Regions from separate parts of the Homo sapiens genome. Here region 1 is linked to region 2. Evidence: promoter capture Hi-C in 16 types of primary human blood cells and fetal thymus (Javierre and others, 2016). All regions are on one chromosome and are shown on one strand. The core of a region is centred on a gene start or on the middle of the fragment in contact, and the rest is flanking DNA. Distances in the headings are between cores, read along the strand shown.

What was found. Contacts are between HindIII fragments. The CHiCAGO score rates a contact against its expected background, and 5 or more counts as called.
Region 1: a contact is called between a fragment that was not itself captured here and the fragment with the promoter of SPTB in region 2, in 2 of 17 cell types (M0 macrophages and M2 macrophages). The highest score is 5.8, in M0 macrophages.

What each region holds. Positions count from the first base shown.
Region 1 is chr14:64,654,226-64,657,151 of GRCh38, forward strand. No RefSeq gene overlaps it. Among named protein-coding and RNA genes, the nearest start is that of PLEKHG3, 49 kb to the right of the region's middle. The HindIII fragment of the contact is 2,675 bases long and covers 161-2,835 here.
Region 2 is chr14:64,878,367-64,881,292 of GRCh38, forward strand. SPTB (spectrin beta, erythrocytic) reads right to left here and starts at 1,541. Exons shown (of 36, transcript NM_001355436.2): 1 at 1,426-1,541. LOC105370534 (a long non-coding RNA gene) reads right to left here. Exons shown (of 3, transcript XR_943942.3): 3 at 2,515-2,926. RefSeq lists silencers at 1,652-1,821, 1,872-2,011, 2,082-2,161. The HindIII fragment of the contact is 2,561 bases long and covers 757-2,926 here.

The DNA.
Region 1 (2,926 bases), core at 248-2,747, 220 kb before region 2:
GAGTAACTTGCTGGAGGTTATGAAGTAAGAGCTGAGATTTAGACCAGGGCTGTTTTGTTCTAGAGCCCACGACCATCCTCTACCACATCTGCAGTGTTTGTAGAACTGAATTAAAGATGAGTGAGTAGATCTGTCAAACTTGTGCCAGGGAAAGCCCATAAGCTTACACCAGACACAGCTAGAAAGACATTGAGGAAGTCCTGGAAACCACCAGTGTGTTTTTAGGTGACTCATGGAGGCAAGAGAGCAAGTTGCAATGTCTCCGAGGGTAGTTGGTTTAGGAAAGGATGAAATATGTCAGAAAAATCTATGTACATAAATAAAACCAAGCAGCTGTGTTCACATTAAGATCCAAACGGAAACCCAGCTGAAGTAGGAGCCGTTGGATCTGTCCCACCAACCTGTTGTGAGCATGAGCTAGGTAAATATTTGGCTGATACAAGGTCCATCACAGGTTAATAGCTCTGGTCATTACCAAGCCTGGTTATGCTGGAATTGCATGTAGTCTCAACTGGACACTCATGTTTAAGCACAATTTAAAAAATCACCAAGGGAAACCAGGAAGCAACACTTCTATTTGGGAAGTCAACTAATGGAAAGTTTTCTAAAATAAGTAACACAGCTTCAGCTTCAGCAATGGGATTTGTGACATCCCTCCCGTGTCACAGTTAATGTCTACCTTGTTTAATACCACATAATAGTACTTTTAGCCTTCAGAACCTTGAAACTGCATAACTACTGGAACAGTTTAAAAAGAATGAGAACATAATGATTTCATACAGCCCATACGTTTCCCAAATAAGTAAAGGGAAGCTGACTTACGGCAATGAGAGGCGGTGTGGTAACCCGGAGAAACTAGGCTGTCGGTGGGACACATGGGTGTGAATCAGCTCTGCTACTTACATGCTCTGTGTGTCTCCGCAGGACACTTAACCTCTTTGAGCCTTACTTTCGTCATCTGGAAATCAAGAGGGTTGCCCTAGATAATTCTAAGGACCGGCCCAGCTGAAGGTTTGTGAGTGCATGAGAAGCCTGCGGTGGGTAAGGTTATGGTGTCAGCTTCCACGTGGTCTGCGTATACAGTGAAGCCCACGTGCCCTGCTCCATTTGGAGAGGCAGCTTGGCCAAGGTGTAGAATTGGAATCATCTGCATTGGAAGCTGCCTTTTGAAAGTGCTAGCAGTGTGCCCCAAGCGCTTGTTTTCTGATGGAGCTGATCTGCCCTGCCCAAGCACTAACTGGGAAGCTCTTACCCTTATTTTCCCTTTGCCCCAATTCCTTTAACTTTTTTTTTTTCTTTTTTTTGAGATAGAGTCTTGCTCTGTTGCCCAGGCTGGAGTGCAGTGGCATGATCTCGGCTCACTGCAAGCTCCGCCTCCCAGGTTCACACCATTCTCCTGCCTCAGCTTCCTGAGTAGCTGGGACTACAGGCGCCCGCCACCACGCCCGGCTAATTTTTTGTATTTTTAGTAGAGACGGGGTTTCACCGTGTTAGCCAGGATGGTCTTGATCTCCTGACGTCGTGATCTGCTCGCCTCGGCCTCCCAAAGTGATGGGATTACGGGCTTGAGCCACCGCGCCCGGCCCCTTTAACTCTTTATCTCTTTTTATGGTGTGTATTTTTCTAAGCACCTCAAAAAGATTTCATAAGATATGAAATAAAGTGAGAGTATAAAGCTATTCTTTTTTTTAATCCTCCAAAGTGAGTTGTTTTTGTAGGCTAATCATAGAACTATTGTATGACCTGGCAATCCCACTTCTTGGTATATACCCAAGAGAACTGAAAGCAGGGACCTGAACAGATATTTGTACACAATGTTCATAGCAGCATTATTCACAATAGCCAAAAGGCAGAAACCACCCAAATGTCCCTCAACAGATGAATAAACAAAATGTGCTATATTCATACAATGAAATAGTATTCAGCCATAAAAAAGAAATGCAATATTGATATATGCTAAAATATTGATAGACATTGAAAACATTATGCTTAGTGAAATAATCCAGACAAAGAAAAACAAATATTATATGATTCCCACTTATATCAGGTACCCAGAATAGGCCAATTCGTAAGGCAGAAAATAAGATAGAAGGCCGGGTGCTGTGGCTTACACCTGTAATCCCAACACTTTGGGAGGCCGAGGCAGGTGGATAACTTGAGGTCAGGAGTTCCAGACCAGCCTGGCCAATATGGTGAAACCCTATCTCTACAAAAAATACAAAAAATTAGCTGTGCATGGTGGCACGTGCCTGTAATCACAGCTACTTGGGAGGCTGAGGCAGGAGAATTGCTTGAACCCAGGAGGTGGAGGTTGTAGTGAGCTGAGATCGTGCCATTGCACTCCAGCATGGGCAACAAGAACAAAATCCCGTCTCAAAAAAAAAAAGAAAAGAAAAGAAAAAAGGAAAAGAAAAGAAAAGAAGATAGAAAGTGGGACGTGGTGGCTCATCCCTGTAATCCCAGCACCTTGGGAGACCGAGGCAGGCAGATGGCTTGAGCCCAGGAATTTGAGACCAGCCTGGGCAACATGGCGAAACCCTGTCTCTACAAAAATACAAAAAATTAGGCAGACGTAGTGGCGTCTGCTTGTAGAAAAAAAAATAGAATAGAGGTTACCATGGGCTGGAGGAAGGGCCAAAAGAGAAGTTATTATTTAATGGGTACAGAATTTTTGTTAAAAATAATGAAAAAGGTTTTGGTATACATAGTGGTGATGGTTATACAACATTGTGAATGTATTTAATGCCATTGAATTGTGAAGGTTAAAATGATAAATATTATGTATGTTACCACAATAAAACATTTAAGTAGGCTGTTTTTTGTGCTTCTGTCGAAAGCTTTTGTGTGTGTGTGTAAATTGGCTCTCTGTAATGTGAAAGAGAAAGGTGAGAAAATGAGCAAGGAAATAGTTGCTTAATAACGAAAT
Region 2 (2,926 bases), core at 291-2,790:
CAGCATACATTAACAATCATTTTGCACTTAGAAAAAAAAAGGTGTTTTCAATTGCATTTTGGAACCTGGGACTCAGAGCAAAAGAATAAAAGCTGAATCCTAAAATAAGAAATGACCTGCCTTGGGTTATAGTGGGGGAAGGGGTGGGCGAAGAGGGAATTCTAGAATAAAATTCAGAGCCATCTGTGAAGCTAAGGATAGGACAGTGGACAGTTGAGCTGTGCCTAAAAATCTTTGATTTGCAGACTCCTCTCATTAGGGAGCCGCCTGAATCTCTTCCCTTAGAAACTAAAATACGGATCGTGACTACCTCCAGGCAGGGGTTTTGCATGACTGCCTCCTACCTGGAGGTGACAGCCTAGTCTCTCCCCACAGAAATTCTCAGTACAAAAAGGCTGTCACTATATCCCCCCACCCCACCCCCCAATCTGATGCATCTAAAATTTAGATGTACAAAAAACAGTGGCTTCTTTTCATTTTCCTTACTCCTGGCTGGCGCCTCTAATTGCTCACTGAAAACAGTGGTTTGGATATTAATAGGCTGTAACTCAAGGCCCTACCTGAAGCTCGTTGTCAGGGAAACAGCACTCCAGCCCCGCAGCTGCTTCCCCAGCCTGGGAAGTACGGATGAGTTGGTGGGAGTTGGGGATTGTTTTACAGCTTCTGTTATTTCTCCCACTTTCTGCTATTTCTCAAGACCAAGTTAGAGGAAGAGGGGAAACTGGAGAGGAGGGTGAGGGTAGAGTAGCCCGGAGAAGCTTAGAGGAAGAGAGGAACTCTTTGGGAGAGGAAGACTAGGGGTCCTTGAAGTATGGCTTGGGGCACTAGGATCTTTCCTCCCTCGGTCTACACGGGGTCACTCTCTGGGTGGCTCCCAGCACCCGGAGGCCCGGCCCCCTCTGCTGCCCTCACCTGTCCCTCCTGCCTGGGCGCTGGGTGGCCCGAGGAGAGCGCAGCCAAGTTCCCCAGAAGAGGGATATGAGCGGCCACAAGGCTGAGAAGCCGGACAAAAAAAGGCAGAGAGCAGCGCTGCGGTCGGACGGGCTAGAGGCGCAATCCCCTTCGCTCCCAGGCCGGGGTCCTGGAGAAGGCGGACGAGAACACGCACCCCCGTCACCCTCTCCCTGCGCCCCGGGGTGACGGACTCTCCGGGATCCCGCTCTCCAAAGCTAGCACCAAGTGCCTCGGACGCCCGCGCGCGTTCCCGCGTCCCGGGATGATCTTTGCCGCAGCTGCCGGGCTTCCCGGGCCCCGCACCCCTCCCACCCCACGCCCGACAACCGGGGCTGGACTCCCACCCGGTCCTCTGGGCCCTGCGCGTCAGGCGCCCCCTGGGCCCAGCGCTCCTTTGAGCTGGCGCCGCGCGTCCCAGCCTTGCGCACCCGCACCCAGCTCCCTTGGCCGCCGGGCCCTCCTGGGACTCACCTGCCCTGGGACTGAAGCGGGGGCCACCCCGAGCCCGGGGGTGGCGGCGGCGGCGGCGCAGGGGGAGGAGGGCAGCGCGGGGCTCCTGGCACAGCGGCCGCCGGGCGCCTGGTGCTGCCGAGCCGCGGACCCGCCCAGAGATATAAATAACATTATCTGAGGAGGGACATTCCTGCCGGGGGACATCGCTGCTGCCGGGACCAGATAGTCCCGCGGCGGGGGCGGGGAGGCGGGGCCGCAGCCTCCCGCAGCGCCAAGCCCAGCCCCCGCCTTCCCCACCCACTCACGCACCTGCCAATCAGCCTCCGCGCCTGGGGGCACCTGCCGGGCCTCAGCCCGGCTCCTGGAACCCGCCTCTGCCTCCCCGCCCGCCGCTGAGCCTGGGGCGCCTCCATCGTCGTTCATTGCCCCTAACCCCGCGCCACCCCGAGCCCCCTGAGGCGGGAAGGGGGTTGGACTCTAGCTCGGGCCTAATTCGTGCGCCCGGAGAGGCAAGCCTGGTGGCGAAAATGAGCCCTCCAGCCTTTCCCGCCCTGCATCCCCACTGCACACAGTTCAGTTTTTAAAATATATGAAAAGACATTTAGGCCATAGGGTGGGCGCGGCGGGTACCCGGGAGGTGAACCCCCGCCGTGGCGGGTTTGGGAGGGACAGATTGTTCCCGGGGGCTGGTGCATTAGAAAGCGCGCTCCCGGGCGGGCTTCTCTCGGCTGGCGGTGGGAGGGCAGGGGGCGGGCACTGGGCCCGAGGGCCCCACCCCCAGCCCGAGCTCAGTGTCGCTGTTTCTGCCCGAAAACCTAGTGTAATCAGGACGAACCAGGCAAAGCTGGCGGCGCGCAGCCTGCAGTCCCAAGGAGCTCGCACATTGTAGGGACTGTAATCAACAGGCAGGCTGCCACACCTGCCCACTGGCACCTCCTGGCCGGCCCGGGTCTCCGGGCGAGTGGGGGTGCCTCACTACAAGCCTGGATGAGGCGCGGCGCAGCAGGCCAGAGGAAATACTAGAACCGATGGTGCCAAAAAGGCATCTCCGAGTTGCCCCCGGAGAGAAACTCAATAGAACACCGGCAGCTTGCAAGGCAGTACATTTTCTTGACTTTCTAACGATCAAGGTCATTGTTCAGTAAGGTTTACGTGTACGCCTTGAGGTAGCTTTCATCTCTTTTCTCCACCTGCGGTGCCTGGGATGATTTCTCACCAGCTATCAACGCAGGTAATCTCAGGTATTATGGAAATGGCCGTGGAGATTAAAAGCGCATAGATGCAGAAGAAGTTTTAACTTTTACTGATGCTGCCTGGTGTTCTTAACAAGGGAACAGTCTTACTCCTGAGTTATTTGCTTGGGATTATAATTGTGCTGTTTTCCAGAATTCACCCAGGAAAGGGGTGTTTGCCAGATGTTCGAGTTTAGTTTATATATTGAACATATGCAAAGATACTTCACTTCCTGCTGCAGTCCCACTTCTTGAGGGTGGGTATTTAGACACTGAGATGTGCTGAG